2 separate regions of the Homo sapiens genome follow, and region 2 is linked to region 1. Evidence: promoter capture Hi-C in human tissues and cell types (Jung and others, 2019). All regions are on one chromosome and are shown on one strand. Each heading gives the region's core, a stretch centred on a gene start or on the middle of the fragment in contact. The rest is flanking DNA. Distances are from core to core; before and after follow the strand shown.

What was found. Contacts are between HindIII fragments. The study calls those that stand out against the background at their distance.
Region 2: a contact is called between a fragment that was not itself captured here and the fragment with the promoter of DUSP28 in region 1, in 1 of the 25 tissues and cell types used here (dorsolateral prefrontal cortex).

The regions. Positions count from the first base shown.
Region 1 is chr2:240,557,499-240,561,662 of GRCh38, reverse strand. It overlaps DUSP28 (dual specificity phosphatase 28), which reads right to left and starts at 1,306. Exons shown (of 2, transcript NM_001370465.2): 1 at 586-1,306; 2 at 1-333. The coding sequence starts at 978. The coding sequence ends at 196. ANKMY1 (ankyrin repeat and MYND domain containing 1) reads left to right here and starts at 3,675. Exons shown (of 18, transcript NM_001282771.3): 1 at 3,675-3,782. RefSeq lists enhancers at 88-447, 478-547, 580-721 and silencers at 818-867, 1,048-1,457, 3,516-3,735. The HindIII fragment of the contact is 5,674 bases long and covers 1-3,477 here.
Region 2 is chr2:240,805,071-240,809,234 of GRCh38, reverse strand. The region is part of intron 1 of KIF1A (kinesin family member 1A); the gene reads left to right. Among named protein-coding and RNA genes, the nearest start is that of KIF1A, 13 kb to the left of the region's middle. The HindIII fragment of the contact is 7,215 bases long and covers 1-4,164 here.

The DNA.
Region 1 (4,164 bases), core at 57-2,556:
ACCAAATGTATTTCTTTTTGTGTCTGTAAGATAATTTGTGCATCACCTCAGCCGGAAATATAAAATTAAAAGCACTATGTTTCACACACACACACACAAAGGAAAACTCGATATGACAGTGAGGAAGAAGGGTAAAGACCAGCCTTCTGTATCAGTGCAGGGACATCCTTCCTCCAGGCAGCAGGCCTTCAAGCTTCAAGCCTCAGGGCCCAACCCTAAGGCTGGGGGCTCTCCCTGCAGGCAGGACTGGGCCTGGAGGGCCTCCTCATACTTCTGGAGCTGAGACCAGAAGCCCGGGTTCGGTTCTGCTACCGGGCGAGCGCTCTTCACCATCTGCAAACAAGAAGTGTACTGAATAACCCCAAGTCGCGCTAATGGCCAGCAGGGGCCAAGGCGGGCCCAGCTGTAAGAGTGGGCCCCGCCCAACCCGGAAGTGCCTCTCTGCTTCCCTAAGCCCGCCCTCACGAGAGAGACCCGCCCCTCCCGGAAGTGCCTGTCCCAATCCCGAAGCCGGCCCCGCCCGGAAAACTCGTCCCCGGAAGACACGCCCCTCTCGAAACACCGCCCCCCTAAAGGCCCGCCCACCTGGAAGGCCTTCGCCAGGCTGAGGCCGCGGTGCCGCATGAGGTACGCGGTGCAGACGGCGGCCGAGCGGCTGCGGCCGTTCTTGCAGTAGACTAGGCAGGCGCCGCCGGCGCGCACCGCGGCCTCCATGGCGGCGCACGTGGGCTCCAGGTGCGCCAGCAGGTCCTCAGCCGGGTCGTCGAACACGGGCACGCGCAGCTCTGCCACGCCGGGCGCGCGCGGGCCGGGCTGCTGGCGGGAGACGTTGACGCACAGCGTGACTCCCGCGCGCGCCAGCTGCTCCTCCGCGCCCGCGGCTCGCGCGCTCCCGAGGAAGAGTGAGGGCGCGACGCGCACCAACGGTGGAGGTACGGGCGAGGCGGCCCCGCGGCGCCCAGCTTCTGCCGGTCCCATGGCGCCCGCCGAAGAGTCTGCTTTTGGGCCCTGAGGATCTATTTTGGGGGCTCAGGCGCCCGCCCAGGAGTCTATTTGTGGGAGCCGGGCGGGCCGCCGGGCGCCCCCGGGTCCTAGAGGCCTCCGAGGTGGACCAGGCTGGGGCTTGGGTCCCCCGCGGGCGCTGGGCCGGGACAGGGGGCTTGGGTCTCGTTGGGGCCGGGGCATGGCGGGAGGTTTGGGCCTCACCAGGGCGCCGGGGCCTTGGACCGCTCTGCGTCCCATGTTCTCTGTCCCCGGGCGCCGTCCTCCCCGCCCCCGCGGCCTGTGGCACTGGGCTTGCGTCTGTGGCTCTTGGGCGCAGCGCCCTGCCCGCTCTACTGCGGCGTCTGGCGCGGAGGCGTGGCTTGGCCGGGCCCGCCCACTTCGCGTCCGCGTCGTTCGGCTAGGGCCCCGTGGCTACCCGGTGCACGTGGACGGCGGGCTGCGTGGTTCCCGTGTCTTCACCCTTTCCCTAGTGACTGCGTTGTCGGCTTTACGTTTATTCCTTTTTGTGGCCCGCTTTGTAATTGGTGCATTTTTTTCTATGTATTATAACACATGGCTCATAAAATAAAACTAATTTCTATTTTCATCACTTCTTCATAGACCACACTATTCCTTTTGCTGTTTCTAAGTAATTTATTGGGGTCAGCATTGTAACTTTAAAAAATTTAATATCACTTAATGTCCATGAAATTGCCATTTAAGACTCCTTCAATTTTTCTGACATCTGGTAATTTTCAGGCAATGGATACACTGAAAAGCAACTGTCTCAACAGCCCTACAGACATTTAGCAATTGAAGTTTCAGTTGCATACAGTCTCTCTCTGGGTTATCGTCATTGCTTTGTCCATCAGCCTTCTAGCATTGGTAACTGTCAGATCTTTATTGCAGCCTGGGGTTCACTCTTGAGCTAAAGACTCAAATATGTCTGCAGCCAGGTCTTCCCTGGTTGCAGCTCCAGACATCACCTCCGTGGAGGTCTTATCAGCATCTGTTTCCCACTTCCTCCACCCTAAGGAAGGACTCCAACTTTCCTAGGATGGAGGAGTGGAATTCCCTTTTTTTCCCTGGCGTTCATGGGAGCCATTGATTAGGTTGGGACACTGTCTCCCTCCGCTTTCTAGGAGTTGGCTCTGTCTCTGGCCAAAAGTGAAGGCCACACTCCCGTGACTGCTCTGGGAATGAGCTTGGTGTCTAATAACCCATGAAGGAGAGAGCACTTTGGAAGGCTCCTCTGTTCTCTCATGGCCATAAGGGGAAGCCAGCCTTGGGTGAAAGCAGAGGAGATGGGAGAGCCAAGGTCCTTGATGCCACTGTTGGGCCACTGAAATGAATCAAACAAAACCTGAAGTCCCTCCTCCTCCTGGACTGTTTCATGAATCATCATCACCCTTTACGGTTGGAGGATGGTTGAGGTGGGTTTTCTGCTCCAAAGCCTGCTACTTGAACCATCATGCTCCCACTCCATTGAGGTAATGGATTGGGAACCAATTCATCCTAAGTGTCTCTGCATCTCATTGCCACACTTAGTCTGGGCCAGCCTCTGTCTCCTGGACTTGGTGCTAGTCCCCCACAGTGTAACCAGAATGTGCTTGCTAAGAACAGAGGGTTTCTACATGTTGGTTCTGACTCCTTAGCAAGTTGTAATTCACAACTAATGTGGGTTGTGAAATCAATTCTGTGGGTCATGATCAGCATTTTAGTTTTTAGAGAAATAATAGACTACATGAAAATATTAGAGTGCATGCATGTAGTATGCCGAACTTTTAATGAAACATTTTTCTGAGTGGTTTGTACTGGGTCGTGGTGTAAAATGAGATTTTAGAGAGAAGTGAACTCAACAGACAGGCACTGGCGTGTGGAGGCAGAGCCCCTAGAACCCCAGAATCCTGGCCCAGCCTTAGTCCTTAGTCCCCGGAAAGCTAGCCAGTGGGGAGGGCCAGGGCATCAGCTCTTCACACCCCCTGCCCTGTTCTCAGAGGCAGTCTGGGTTGAGAAAACGCAAGCCCTGCACCTCCAAGAGCCTCTCCCCTCTTTGCAGGAAGGCCCAGCTGTTTCCCACCATGGTGCCTCTGTACATCCCAGTCCAGTTCCTGAAATGCGCTCTGTAGCCTGGAGAGCTCCTGCGCATCCTGTGAAGCCCCATCAAGAATCCGCTCTCCTGCAGTCCTTCCCCGAGGCCCTCGGAGGGTCCAAGACAGCCAATCCCTCTTCTCTGCGGTGACTCTTGCGGCCTCCCTCATCTCGTTCCCTCCGCAGGCCTCGAGTTACCCTTGCGCCTTCCACATTTACTGAATGAACAAAGGCCGGGGCTGGAATCAGGCAGGGCTTGAGCAAGTCGTGGCTCCACGTGCTAGGTGATCAGGGCAAGTTAATTAACACTTGGGCCTCAGTTTCCTCAGGTGTCCCACGGCGCTCCCTGTGCCCCCATCACGGGAGTGTTGGGGGAATTTAGCGCTTTCTCTCCCAGGGGTACTCGGCCCAGGGGCTGACCGGGTAAGCGGGAGGCTGGCACCGAGGCCCGCGGGGTGTCGGCCCCAAGCCCCTGAAGTCACAGAGGGCGGGCACGCCCGGAGGCGGGGCCGGGTGCGTCCTGGCGGGGGGATTGGCGGAGCCGGAGAGTGGCAGCGGGCATGGGGCGGGGCTGTCTCCAGGGAAACGCGACGCTCTCCGTAGGCGCAGGGCTGGCAAGCAGTCGGGACGGGAGCGCGGGCGTCCGCGGTGGCTGCAGTCCCGTCGGTCTCCCTGCTGTCCGGCGCGAGCTCTTCGAGTCTTGCTTGGTGCGGTCTCGCGACAGGAGCGCTGGGAGCCGGGGCTAGGGGGATCCCGGAGCTCCGTGGGGCGGCGGGTGCGGGGGGGCGCCAGGCTCGCGGTCCCCACCCCAGGGAGGGGCCGAGGGGCTGGGGGCGTGGGGTTAGGTGGGCGCGGCGTCTCCCGAGCCCACCCTCGAGCGCTGGCTTCAGAGGCCCGTGGCTGAGACCCGCTGTTAGCGGCGCCTCCTGGGCGATAGTGGGTGCGGGCCTGGCCTGGCCACGTGGCCGCGACCGCCCTTGCTGTGATTCCCGCCCACGAAGGGACAGGGACACCTGGGGACGCGGGTGAAGTTTACCCATGGTTCCGACAGGTCTCCCTGAGGACTCCCAGGGATGGTGGTCCGGGACC
Region 2 (4,164 bases), core at 1,175-3,674, 250 kb before region 1:
TAGAAGCAACTTGTCATGATTCACAAAAGAACTTGAGTTTTCATATGAAATGACATTGAGTTTTTGAATCAATTTGGGTAAAATTAAATGTTTTCAAGATATTGAGATTTATTTTCCACCAATAAGTTATAGTTCTCCATTTATTTAGATTTTCCGCAATGTTTTTAGTAAAGTTCTACAATTTTCTTTATAATAAGTTAGTGACGGCTGGGCGTGGTGGCTTATGCCTCTAATCCCAGCACTTTGGGAGGCTGAGGCGGGCAGATCACGAGGTCAGGAGTTCAAGACCAGCCTGGCCAACACAGTGAAACCCCATCTCTACTAAAAATACAAAAAATTAGCCGGGCGTGGTGGTGGGCGCCTGTAATCCCAACTACTCGGGAGGCTGAGGCAGGAGAATCACTTGAACGCAGGAGGCGGAGGTTGCAGTGAGTCAAGATCGCACCGTTGCACTCCAATCCCAGGCGACGGTGTGAGACTCCATCTCAAAAAAAAAAAGTTAGTGACATTTATTCCTAGGTACTCTATAGTTTGGGTTATTATTTTATTTATTTATTTTTTAGAGAGAAGATCTTGCTCTGTTGCCCAGCCTGGAGTGCAGTGGTGTGATCATTAGCTCACCGCAGCCTCGAACTCCTGAGCTCAAGTGATCCTCCTACCTCAGCCTCCCAAGGAGCTGGTACTACAGATGTTGCCACTACTCCTGGCTAATTAAAAAAAAAAAATTTTTTTTTTTTGTTTTAGAAATGGGTCTTGCTATGTTGCTCAGGCTGGTCTTGAATTCCTGGGCTCAAGCAATCCTTCTACCTCAGCCTCCATGGTAGCTGGGACTACAGGTGTGAGCCACTGTGCCAGGTTGGGTTATTATTTTAAAGGATACCTTAAAATATGTTTTAATTCTTTATCAGGTATATAAGAATGTTCTTGATTTCTACAACCTTATTGAACCTTCCTAATTCAAATATTTTTTCTGTGGATTCTCTTGATTTATGTGTAGATGAGCAAATGGTCTGCAGATAATGACAGTTTGGTTTCTTTCTTTCAAATTCATATTTATGTTGTTTGTTATTTTCCTGTCTTACTGGTTTGGCCAGAACCTCTCCTACAATGTTAAATAGAAGTAGAGATAGCAAGCATCCTGGACTTGTTTCTGAATATAAAGGAAATGTTCCTATCATTTTACCATTAAGTGTGATGTTTGGGTAGGTTTTTAGTAGATAGCTATTATGAGGTTAAAAAAGTTTTCTTTTATTCTAATATTGCTTAGAATTTTATCACAAATGAGTCTTGAAAATTATGGAATGCTTTTTTAGTATCTATTGAGGGCCTCATATTCTTTCTTCTTTAATTTGAAAATTATAATAATAGCTATCCTAATGTCAAGCTATACTGGTATTCCTGGAATATGCTTACCTGCATTGCCCTTTTTATTTGTTACTGTATTTTCTTGCTAATTTTTCAGACTTTTGTACCTATGTTCATCAGTGAAACTGGTCTATAATCTTTCTCAATTTTTTCTTGTTTACTTTGATGCTAAAATTCTATTAGCATCAGTGAATGAGCTAGGAGTACAGTTGGCTCTCGATATCTGTGGGTTCTGCATCTGTGAATTCAACCAGATCAAAATTTTTGGAAAAAAAGAATGGTTTGTCTATACTGAACATGTACAAATGTTTTTCCCTTGTCACTATTACCTGGACAATACAGTATAGCAACTATTTATTAATACATAGCATTCACATTGTATTAGGTATTATAACTAATCTTGAGATGATTTAAAATATATGGAAGGGGCTGGGTGCGGTGGCTCATGCCTGTAATCCCAGCACTTTGGGAGGCCAGCGCGGGCAGATCATCTGAGGTCGGGAGTTCAAGACCAGCCTGACCAACATGGAGAAACCATGTATCTACTAAAAATACAAAATTAGTTGGGCATGGTGGTGCATGCCTAGTGGCGCATACTAGGGAGGCTGAGGCAGGAGAATCGCTTGAACCCGGGAGGCAGAGGTTGCGGTGAGCTGAGATCACACCATTGCACTCCAGCCTGAGCAACAAGAGTGAAACTCTCTCTCTCTCTCTGTGTATATATATATATATATATATACACACACACACACACACACACACACACACACACACACACACACACACACACATATATATGAGGATGTGTAGGTCAAATGCAAATAGTACACCAGCTCATATGAGGGACTTGAGCATCTGTGGATTTTGGTATCTGTGGGGGGTCCTGGAACCAATCTCCTACTGATACTGAGGGACGACTTTATATTCTTTGGGTGTTTCCCTCTCTTTCCTCCATTCTCATAAAGAGTTTGTATAGGACTGATATTATCTTTTAAACAAATGTATGGTGGAACTCACCTATAAGAAGTGTCTGAATCTGCTGCCTTTTTTTGTGGGTAGATTTTTAAACTATTGGATCAATTTCTTTAATAATTGTAGGAAAATTCATGTTTCTATTGCTTATTTTTCTCATAGTTATGCATCACATTTTCCTGGTTCTTGGCAGGTCTAGTAATTTTTGATTGGATGCTAGACATGATTTTTAGTTTTTAGAGAGTCTGACTTCTATTTCTTGCTTTAGTGCATGTTGGGCTTTGTCTTGGCAGGCGCTTAACTTACTTGAAGACCAGTTTGATCAGTCAAGGCCTGTTCTTAAGCTTTTCTAGAGCTGGTCTAGAGTAGACCACCTGCAGGAATAGTTTAGTCCCCCACCTAGGGCATGCCTTCTCCAGGGTCTCCACGGAATATCTGGAGTGGAGGCTCAAGAGGACTCCCTGTTCTGGCTGATAGGATCACAGATGTCTCCTTACCTTGTGTGAGTTTTGAGAATTGTTCAGATTACAACGGCCCAGTCTTTTTGTGTCTGGATTATCCAGGAATGGACTAGTACTCTGAAAAGACTCAAGTGTACCCCGGTGCAAATTTCTGGACTTCTGCTGAGCAGCTCCTTTCTTCCAGAACTCTGACTCACAACCTCCAGCTGCCTCTGCCCACCCAAACTCTGACCACCATCTTCTCAACCTGTCAAAGCTGCCAAGGCGCTTGGGTCCTACCTTGCTGTGCCTGCCTCCAGGCAGATTTGGAGTGATCACAGGGCTCACCTAGTATGTGCCCCTTCTCTCAGGGATCACAGTCCTGCACTGCCTATTGTCTGATGTCTGAACACCAGTATTTTCGTATATTTTGTCTTCTTTGCTAGTTATTGTTTACAGTGAGAGGTTAAGCCTGGTCCCTGGGACTCTGTCATGGCTGGACATGAAAACTCCATGTTTTGCTATTAGTGTTTTCATTTCCATTTAGTAAGTATTTTTATATTTTCATCATGATTTTTCCTTTGGTTTGTTATTTAGAAGTTTATTTTTTAAATTTCTAAACATATGGGTTTTTAATTATTTTTAAATTAATTTTTAGTCTAATTGTGTTCAAATTACATGATTCATTTTATACAGGTCTTTGAAAGCTACTGGGAGTTGCTTTATGGTCTAGTACATGGTAAAATATTGTAAATGTTCCATATGTAATGGAAAAGAATGTTGCTCTAATTTTCTGCGAGAGGCACATATGTCCATTAATTTATGATTATTGTGTTATTCATGCTATGCTCTTATTAATTATATATCTGCTTGATCTACCAATTAGTGAGAAGTGTGTTAAAATCCCTGTCATGATAAATTAATGAATTCCTCCATATTACTTGACTCTGAACTTTGGTTTTATATTTTCGCCCTTTTTTTCTTTCTGGGATCATTTTGGGTAATTTTTTTCTGACATATTTTCCAGTTCATTAATTCTGTGTTGAGCTCCATTTAATTTGCTGATTAGCATGTCTGCTAAGTTTTCAGTTTTAAATAATTACATTTTATTTCTAAAAGTTCTGCATGGTTCTTTCCCATATGTTACCCCATTGTTTTTCAGTTCTGCTTATTTCTTAGAACATTTAAGCCAACTTATTTTTATAATCTGTATTTCACAATTTTAATATCTGAAGTCGCTGAGGATCTAATCCCTCTCTTCCCTTTCTCTTTCTTCTCCCTTCCCTCCCCTCTCCCTCCCGCCTCCCTCCCCACTCCCCTCTCCCTCCGCCCTCCCTCCCCTCTCCCTCCCTCCCCTCTCCCTCCCCTCTCCCTCCCCTCTCCCTGC